Regions from separate parts of the Homo sapiens genome. Here all the other regions are linked to region 1. The links are contacts of gene promoters, found by promoter capture Hi-C in blood cells and fetal thymus (Javierre and others, 2016). All regions are on one chromosome and are shown on one strand. The core of a region is centred on a gene start or on the middle of the fragment in contact, and the rest is flanking DNA. Distances in the headings are between cores, read along the strand shown. Region 1 holds the start of CYBC1 (cytochrome b-245 chaperone 1). Region 2 overlaps SIRT7 (sirtuin 7). Region 3 overlaps ALYREF (Aly/REF export factor).

Region 1 (2,700 bases), core at 18-2,517:
GTAAGGAAGGCCCTTTTCCGTTCACAGCGACACCGACTGCGCGGGGGCTGTTTCCCGCTCAGACTCACGAGCTACAGCTGCATCACCACCTGCCCCGTCCTGTCTGGAAACCTTATGTCCTGAGGCCGCTAGCCCCCAGCAGCCTTTAAGCTTCTAGCATCTGTGGGCACCCCCTCTCCCCTGTGCTGGCCTCCACCAAGAAAGGAACTGAAAGTCCCATCATGGCTTCCGGCCGTACTGGCTCTCGCACTGGCATGGACCAACGATCTCAGCTCTCTCTCTGCCCTCCTCCACCTGCTGAAAGTTCAGACTGCACAGTAGAGGGTCCCAAAGCGGCCAGAACCGACGAGTCACCAAAGGGGCTAATCTTCCACAGCGGAGTTCCGCACGGGCGCAGCAGCCCTGCCACTTCACCGTACGCTCCCAACACTGGCCCCAGGGACCCCGTTCTGGTAGTTTCTCAGGGCTTTCCCTGTGAAGTCAAATCAAATTTCTGACATTAAGTAGGGGGTTCAGGCTGGGCGCGGTGGCTCAGGCCTGTAATCTCAGCACTTTGGGAGGACGAGGCGTGCGGATTGTTTGAGTCACGGAGTTCAAGACCAGCCAGGGCAACGTGGCGAAACCCCGTCTCCACAGAAAATACATAAAACAGCCCGGTGTGGTGGTGTACGCCTGTGGTCCTAGTTATTCAGGAGGCTGAGCTGGGAGGATCACCTGAGGCCGGGAGGTGGAGGCTGCAGTGAGCAGAAATCGTGCCACTGGACTCCAGCCTGGGTGACAGAGTGAGACCGTGTCTCAAAAAAATAAAAAATAGTGGGTTCAAATCACACAAACCAATCCTAGATGCTGGTATATGACTGGGCTCCCTCCCGGGCCTCAGTTGCCTCATTGCTCCCGAAACACCCGGCATTCCACATCCAAATGCACACACACACGCACACTCGCGGACACAAGCACACGCGCGCTGGCAAAGCCGCCCGCGCCGCTAGTCGCACCGAGCGCTCGTTTCTTTGTCCGGATCGGGGGCGCTCCCGCCGCCGGGGCCAACCTGCAGCGGAACAGGCGCGAGGCCGCCCGCGACGGGCACGGCGGGACACGGAACAGCCGGCAGGCGGGCCCAGGACGCAGACCCCTCCCGGAGTGGGCCTAAGGGTGCCGGGACGCGCGGCACGGAGCGGGAAGGAAGTGCGGAGCCCACCCAGCCCAGCCGCCTACCGAGAGCACAGCGGTCCCCGCGCCGCAGCAGAGAGACGCGAACCGGCGGGGGCGGGGCCGCGCGCACTTCCGGGATTGGAGCGGAGCCGAGCCGACTTTCGGGGGCGGGGCCGCGCGCGCTTCCGGGATTGGGGGCGGGGCCGCGCGCGCTTACGGGATTGGGGCGGGGCCGCAAGCATTTCCTGGATGGGGCGGAGCCGAGCGGATTTCCGGGATCCGGGCGGAGCCGCAGGAGGAGGCGGGTGGTTCCTGCTAAAGAAGCCAGTTTTCTTGAAAAAAAGAAACGTGCGGGGAAACGTATCCGACAGCAAAGAACTTACCAAGGACTATGAACGTCTTGCTAACATAGAAGCGAAACTGAAGCGGTTCTCATTGCCAAAAAAGAAGATTTGAGCATGAATAAGAACAGGAATTCGAGTGAATTTAAAATCCTCAGATGCTCCAGTCTGTAATTCATAATAATGTATTTTTTAACTCTGTTCACCTTTGGAGGATGCTGGTAAGCTCACCCCAGTTTGTGGCCTGGTTAATAAAAGGAAAGCATCAAGCATTTGTCCTGCCTTTATGAAATTTACAGCAGAGTAACCAAATACTGCATGAGAAGAATTTCTCATTATAGAAGTTTTCCCGCTAATAAATGAAGAAGAAACAGTAGGATTAAAACATCACCCTATGAATTAACGGACCTAGGCAATGTCATCAATGACTGCTAATTAACATCGCAAAAAGGTCAGTTAGATATCAGAAGTACACAACACTATGAAGTAGTCTTGCCAGAAAAAATTTAACCTGAATGTGAACAAGCTTCTAGAGTGAATTACTGGAAATGTGGAAGACAAGACTGTACTAAAGGATTCTACAAGGATACAGTCAGCAATTCGAAACCTCAACCATCTGAATGGACCCTTCCGCTTGGCCAAGAGCATTCCCAAGTTATCCTGAAAAACTAGCTCAGGCAGTGATGGGAAGGGGGAGACAGACATACCTCACTCCCTCCTCCCTTTTGGAATTCAGGCACACAGCTGACCAGCATTCACATTAAAACAGATCTTGAGGTGGCCAGGTGCGGTGGCTCACGCCTGTAATCCCAGCACTTTGGGAGGCCAAGGTGGGCAGATCACGAGGTCAGGAGATTGAGACCATCCTGGCTAACACAGTGAAACCTCATCTCTACTAAAAACACAAAAAAATTAGCTGGGCGTGGTGGCGGGTGCTCATAGTCCCAGCTACTCGGGAGGCTGAGGCAGGAGAATGGCGTGAACCCGGGAGGCAGAGCTTGCAGTGAGCCGAGATCGTGCCACTGCTCTCCAGCCTGGGCAACAGAGTGAGACTCCATCTCAATAAAAAATAACAAAACAAAACAAAAACAGATCTTGAAGTTGACAAAGTAGACTCTGTAGCAATGACGCCAAATTCCAGCCTGACTCTGGTATAGGACTACATGACAGATAGGAAGCCTTGGAAGAAATGGAAGTACTTTACCCC
Region 2 (2,700 bases), core at 16-2,515, 540 kb before region 1:
GCCGAGCTAAGCGGTGCACCCCGGTCCCCAGGCGGGGCCTCCTCTCTGCTTCTGCACAGCGACTTCCGACTGTGGCTGCCTTCTTCACCAGCACGCAGGGGAGTCGCCAGTGAGAAAATGGGATCCTGCCACCTGCCAAAAAGGGAAAGCGGCATCAGGCGGGCCTGGGAGCCTCTCGCAGTCACACCTGCCCCAGCTCGGGAAAGCTGTCTGCGGTCCCTGCCTTCCCATCCCCTTCCCTCCCGTGTCAACTGCGGCGGGGCTCTGGTTGGCGGCAGCTTCATTGTTACCAAGCTGCAGAACGGATGTGGGAGAGGTCACCTCTTAGGTGGTGACTCAAAGGTCGGCACCCACACTAGCTCGGTCTCCTCAAAACTCCGTGTCCTTGTCCACCACTGAGCGGCGTGCACACACAGGGTGGGGCAGCAGTGGCCCCAGGGCTGCCTCCGTCTCCAGGGATGAGTCACTAGCAACTCTGGGCCCCACCTTCCACTTGTACCGCTGGGGCAGGTGGACCAGACCCTCTCCCCCTTCCCAGCTGACTAGGGAGGCGTGGCCTACAGACGACCCCGTGAAGAAAGCATGTGTCTGACGGAGATGCAGAACCACAGATCATAACTTAAGATACAGATACGCACTGATAAGGAAAATGAGCTAAGTTAATGTAAAAAAAAAATACAGTACACGATAGCCCACATCACAGAACACCACACACATAACATACAAGAAGTGCCAGGCCCAGAAGGTGAAGGGATCCTTAATTTCTTGAACCCTTTGATTAAAAGAAGTTATTGATTTCCCCTATAAGACCCTGAAAATTCACAGAGAAAGAGAGTGTAAACTTTTTACTCAATACATACACCAAGTCTAAATTATCACAAATTCTGTATTAAGGCACAGTTTGTTTAAGCTTTCCCAAAGTACGCCAACTCCCAAAACCAAGCACACAGATTCTGTCTGACCAGAGCTGCCGAGTGCTCGTCCCCTCCAGATGCTTCCCACCAGGCATCTCGGAGAGCTCCACGGGGAGGCCTGGAGCAGGAGCACGCGGGCAGAATCCCTCTCCCCGCGGGGATTGTGTGTGCCACATCAGCCAGGGCAGGAGTGGCACACGCAGGGTCTCCGCCAACCACCGAGGTCAGGCCCTCTGGAGACCACCACGCTTCAGTCATGCCTCAGGCACCACTGCAAACACCTCAGAGCTTCCTCCACACTCAGCTCACGAGAGAAGACAGACAAGGCCCAGCACACAGAGGTGCGGGGAAGCAGGCTGCTGCAGCGGCTCACTCACCTGCTATAGGCGGGGATCTCCAAGCCCAGCTCGGCCATGAGGAGCCGCATGACGTCATCACACTTCCCATGTAGCTTCAGGGCAGCCCAGTCATCCTTCGGGGTCCACTGAGGACAGGGAAAGCCGAGTGAGAGTAACAGCAGCCCAACCCTTCCCGGTGGCCTGTCAGCCTTGGCCCCTACGGGCTCAGTCGGTGCTCCCTGAGCACCCACGGGGGCCCTATCAGACCGCCCTGGTGCATGGGTGTGGGGTGTCTCTGGCTGTGCGTTCTAAGACCCAGATCTAAGGACGTGGCTCTCAGCACCCGAGTTACCTGCAGGTTCACGATGTAAAGCTTCGGCCGCCGGCTAGGGGGCTTGGTCATGCACCAGAGGCGTGGGTACTTCTTTAGAACCTGTGGAAGCAGACAGACAGACACCGCACACACACAAGGGACAAGTCTGTACAGTGCTGGGCCGCAGAGCTGGACACCCTCGGGCGGGCAGGGGCTCGGTTCACTCATTGTGTCATCGGCACGTACCTTCAGGCTGGACCCTAGACACAGGATGGTGTCTGCTCTGCTGGCAGCCTCGGTCGCCGCTTCCCAGTTCAAAGGCTGCCCCAACGTCCCCCTCTCCCCAAAGTGCACAATGGTGTCCCGCAGCTGGGTCCCACACTTGTGGCAGGTCCGGCCTGTCTGGTGTCTGTGGAGGGCAGTGCGCTCCGTCACATCGAACACCCGCACGTACTCCCTGTTGGGAACGCAGGAGGTACAGACCTAGAGGCAAGAGGGCACAGTGAGTGGGACCCGCCTGCCCATGGAGACCCTGGGTCCCTGCAGGACTGCTCACTTCAATGTACATGTTCCCGTGGAGCTCGGAGATGGCCGTGCGCGGCAGCCCACTCCTCAGGTGGAGCCCGTCACAGTTCTGAGACACCACATGCTGCACCTGGAAGGCAGAACGGGTGGCAAGGGGAGGGATGGCTGCCAGTGGTGGTGGGGAGGTCAGTACCCGGCCACAGCGAGGCTGTTCTGAGCCCCGCCGATGGCTCCCAAAACCAGGGGCAGCTCCGTCCCCCCAGAGAGCCTTAGAAAGTAAAACACACAACAGGTCCAACCACCAGGAGTCAAGAGGGCCTGTGGTGGGGAGGGGCTGTCCTTCCTCCAGCCCTGATGCACCTGGAGTGGCTGGGAGGGCAAGAGGTTGCACCGTCCCGGCAAGGTTGGGAAGTGGCTCGGGGTTTGGCAAGGGCCACTCTGCCCCAGATCCATGCTCTCTTGGGTCATGACATTTCAGGTCCCTGGGGACCTAGGCAGATCAACCACTACACCCCATTGGTTGAGGGTGTTCAGCAGAAGGTCCCCAGAGATGTCCTATAAGCCTCCCCTGTGACTAGGATGGCTTCTGAGGTCCACAGAAAAATGCAAG
Region 3 (2,700 bases), core at 16-2,515, 560 kb before region 1:
GTTCAGGCGATTCTCCAGCCTCAGCCTCCCAAGTAGCTGGGATTACAGGCATGCACCACCACACCCAGCTAATTTTGTATTTTTAGTAGAGACGGGGTTTCGCCATGTTGGCCAGGCTGGTCTTGAACTCCTGACCTCAGGTGATCTGCCTGCCCCAGCCTCCCAAAGTGCTGGGATTACAGGCGTGAGCCACCGCGCCCAGCCGCCCCACTCTTAAATGGACGGATTATCACAGCTTCCACCAGCCACTTCATCAAATATACAACTAAGAGAGGATCCTCATGCCTTGCTCCGTGGCAAGGTTAAAAACAACAACAAAAAAACAAACAGAAAAAGGAATTACACTACAAAGTCAAAACTGCTGAATCCACGTTTCTCTGAAAACCAGAGTACAAGAAGGAAAGGAACAGCCCAGAGATGTTCTGGCTGTGGGAAGCCTGTGGACGGCACACAGGGCAGCCATCCCACCCCAACCTCCCCTCACCTGGAGGCACAGGCACAAGGGTCAACAGGTGGCTCCCGGGCAAAGGTGTCCTCCCACCTGGTGAGTTAGAGAGGAAGGTGTTAGGTGTGAGGCAGGAAAGAAGATAAGAAAGAAGACAGGCAGCTTCGGCCCTCCAGGAGCGGGGACCCCCCGCCACCCCCACAACCCATGCCAACTTCAGGTGTCCAACACCAGATGGGGCTGCTCCCTCCATCCCCAACTCAGGTTCTCCCACCCCCTCCCAGCTGGACAGACACCAAAATCCTGGCCCAGGCCTGGACTCCAACAGTGGGACGAATCAAACAGTTCCAGTTCTACACACATTTCTATTTTATTATGGAAAAGGTGGAAACGCCACCTTCTCCACAACAGCAACCAGTAAAATTTATCCCAAAAATAACTCGGTACAAAACAGGTCTGTTTCAGAATTAAAAAAAAAAAAAAAGAAAAAAAAAAAACCTTTACATGAGTTTTTAAATCCTATTTTAAAACATAAAAGAAACAAATCCATCATTGGCCGCACAGCCCCAGCCACCGCCCCCCAACCAGGGAGCAAGAGGAGACGCCTGGGTCCTGTTCCGCACGCGGATTTGCTGGTCTGTTTAACTGGTGTCCATCTGAAACACAGAGGAGAAAGAGGCTTGCATTCACAGGCGGCCTGCTCCCCACTGCGGCTTTGACCAGGCCCCCAGCTGGCTCCCCCGGGACTCACTCTCGCATTATAGGCGTCCAGCTGGGCATCCAGCTCCTCTGCCGAAAGCTGCTGCTTTGAATTCCTGCCGGCACCTCTGCCTCTTCCACGGGCGCCTCCGCGGGTGCCTCTCCGGGTGCCTCCACCACCACCAAAACCTCCAGCGCCACGGTTTCTAGTCATGCCACCTCTGTTTACGCTAGCAAGGAAGACGAAACCGTTCACACACCCGGAAGGACCCTAAGAGCGACGCAGCCTCACCCTCGGCCAATCCCCTTCCCCAGAGGCCCCGGAAGTCACCTCTGTGCAGGCCTCCGCTGTGCGTCAATCTGTGACGTGACAAGCTGAATGTTCATGGGGCGGCCTGCGGCAAAGAATACGAGAAGGCACGTTCTATTGAGAGGCTCTGAAACCCACCCAGCTGGCGCCACACCCTGGTCTCCATGCAAACACTGGAAAGGGCCTCTGTGCGTCTCAAATGCCCCCGACAAGGGAAATGGCCTGGAGATACTGGTGGGAGAACAAAATGGCAAGGAAGCAACCCCACCAACACCTCCTCACTCCTTCTCAGTCCAGACTAGGTGGGCTGCTCGCTGAGGTATCGGGGTGCTCGTGGGTGGAGAGGTGTGGGTGACCTGACGAAGAAGAACCGGTACCTTTGTCTTTACGACTACAGCCCCGCACTCAGAGGTGTACTATGGCGGTTCTGAGAAGGCTTCACAGAAGTGAATCTTCCGGAAGGAGCTGAAGGAGGGGAGGGATGTAGCTTGCTGGATGGGGGTTCACAAGAGGTTGGTCCAGATGTGTGGGGCAGCATGAGAGGTGGCAGATGGAAGAGAGAGACAAAGGGGCAAATGCAAAGTGTCCTCAGCCACAGGGGTACCCCATATTCCTACCTGGACAGGTGCCAGCCCCAAACTCCACAAGCCCCACAGTCAGCGTGGGTCCACCCCCAGACTCACCATCCAGAGGGACGCCGTTGTACTGCTTCATGGCCTTCAGGGCATCTGCCTTCCGCTCAAAGTGCACGTCTGCTGTTCCTAAGCTGCGACCAGAGCGATCATAGTGCACAGCCGCCTTCTTCAGCGTTCCAAATTCAGCAAAGAGTTCCTGGGAGTTGCAGAGAGCAGTTGTCAGAAAAGCAACAAAACTGCGTTCCTTCTGGTGGCCCAGGGACAGGCCCTGGAAGCGTGAGTTGCTTTGGGGGTGGTTCTCTGGGAGGCAGGACAGTGGTTAACGGGAAATGAGGGAAGGGCGGGGCAGGAGGGACAGCAACTTCCAAGAGCACCTGGGTCTGAGGGCTCCTGCCATTGTGGGGACCTGACACGTGTACCACGATGCAGGTAGAGGAAGCTGCAAAGCCCACTAGCAACGGGCACAAAATTAAGCCACTATCCTCTTCAACAAAGGAAAATGTACAACACACCCAAGGGCTGTTCCAAGAAACGGTAAAGGCCAAAATCAAGAGCAAGGGAAGCAGTCCGATATCAGACCAGCTTGAAGGGCCTGTAGATTCGGGAGCCCT

What was found. Contacts are between HindIII fragments. The CHiCAGO score rates a contact against its expected background, and 5 or more counts as called.
Region 2: a fragment that was not itself captured here is called in contact with the fragment with the promoter of CYBC1 in region 1 in 3 of 17 cell types (naive CD4 T cells, activated CD4 T cells and non-activated CD4 T cells); the score reaches 5.4 in naive CD4 T cells.
Region 3: a contact is called between a fragment that was not itself captured here and the fragment with the promoter of CYBC1 in region 1, in 1 of 17 cell types (non-activated CD4 T cells). The highest score is 5.1, in non-activated CD4 T cells.

Annotation. Positions count from the first base shown.
Region 1 is chr17:82,449,485-82,452,184 of GRCh38, forward strand. It overlaps CYBC1 (cytochrome b-245 chaperone 1), which reads right to left and starts at 1,268. Exons shown (of 7, transcript NM_001033046.4): 1 at 1,216-1,268. RefSeq lists an enhancer at 79-338 and a silencer at 969-1,328. The HindIII fragment of the contact is 1,869 bases long and covers 149-2,017 here.
Region 2 is chr17:81,912,483-81,915,182 of GRCh38, forward strand. It overlaps SIRT7 (sirtuin 7), which reads right to left. Exons shown (of 10, transcript NM_016538.3): 6 at 2,122-2,220; 7 at 1,812-2,048; 8 at 1,605-1,685; 9 at 1,292-1,398; 10 at 1-132. Among named protein-coding and RNA genes, the nearest start is that of PCYT2, 2.4 kb to the left of the region's middle. The HindIII fragment of the contact is 715 bases long and covers 909-1,623 here.
Region 3 is chr17:81,887,045-81,889,744 of GRCh38, forward strand. ALYREF (Aly/REF export factor) reads right to left here. Exons shown (of 6, transcript NM_005782.4): 3 at 2,138-2,285; 4 at 1,476-1,539; 5 at 1,197-1,374; 6 at 791-1,101. The coding sequence ends at 1,087. Among named protein-coding and RNA genes, the nearest start is that of ALYREF, 3.2 kb to the right of the region's middle. RefSeq lists an enhancer at 1,361-2,560 and a silencer at 2,364-2,528. The HindIII fragment of the contact is 3,701 bases long and covers 1-2,700 here.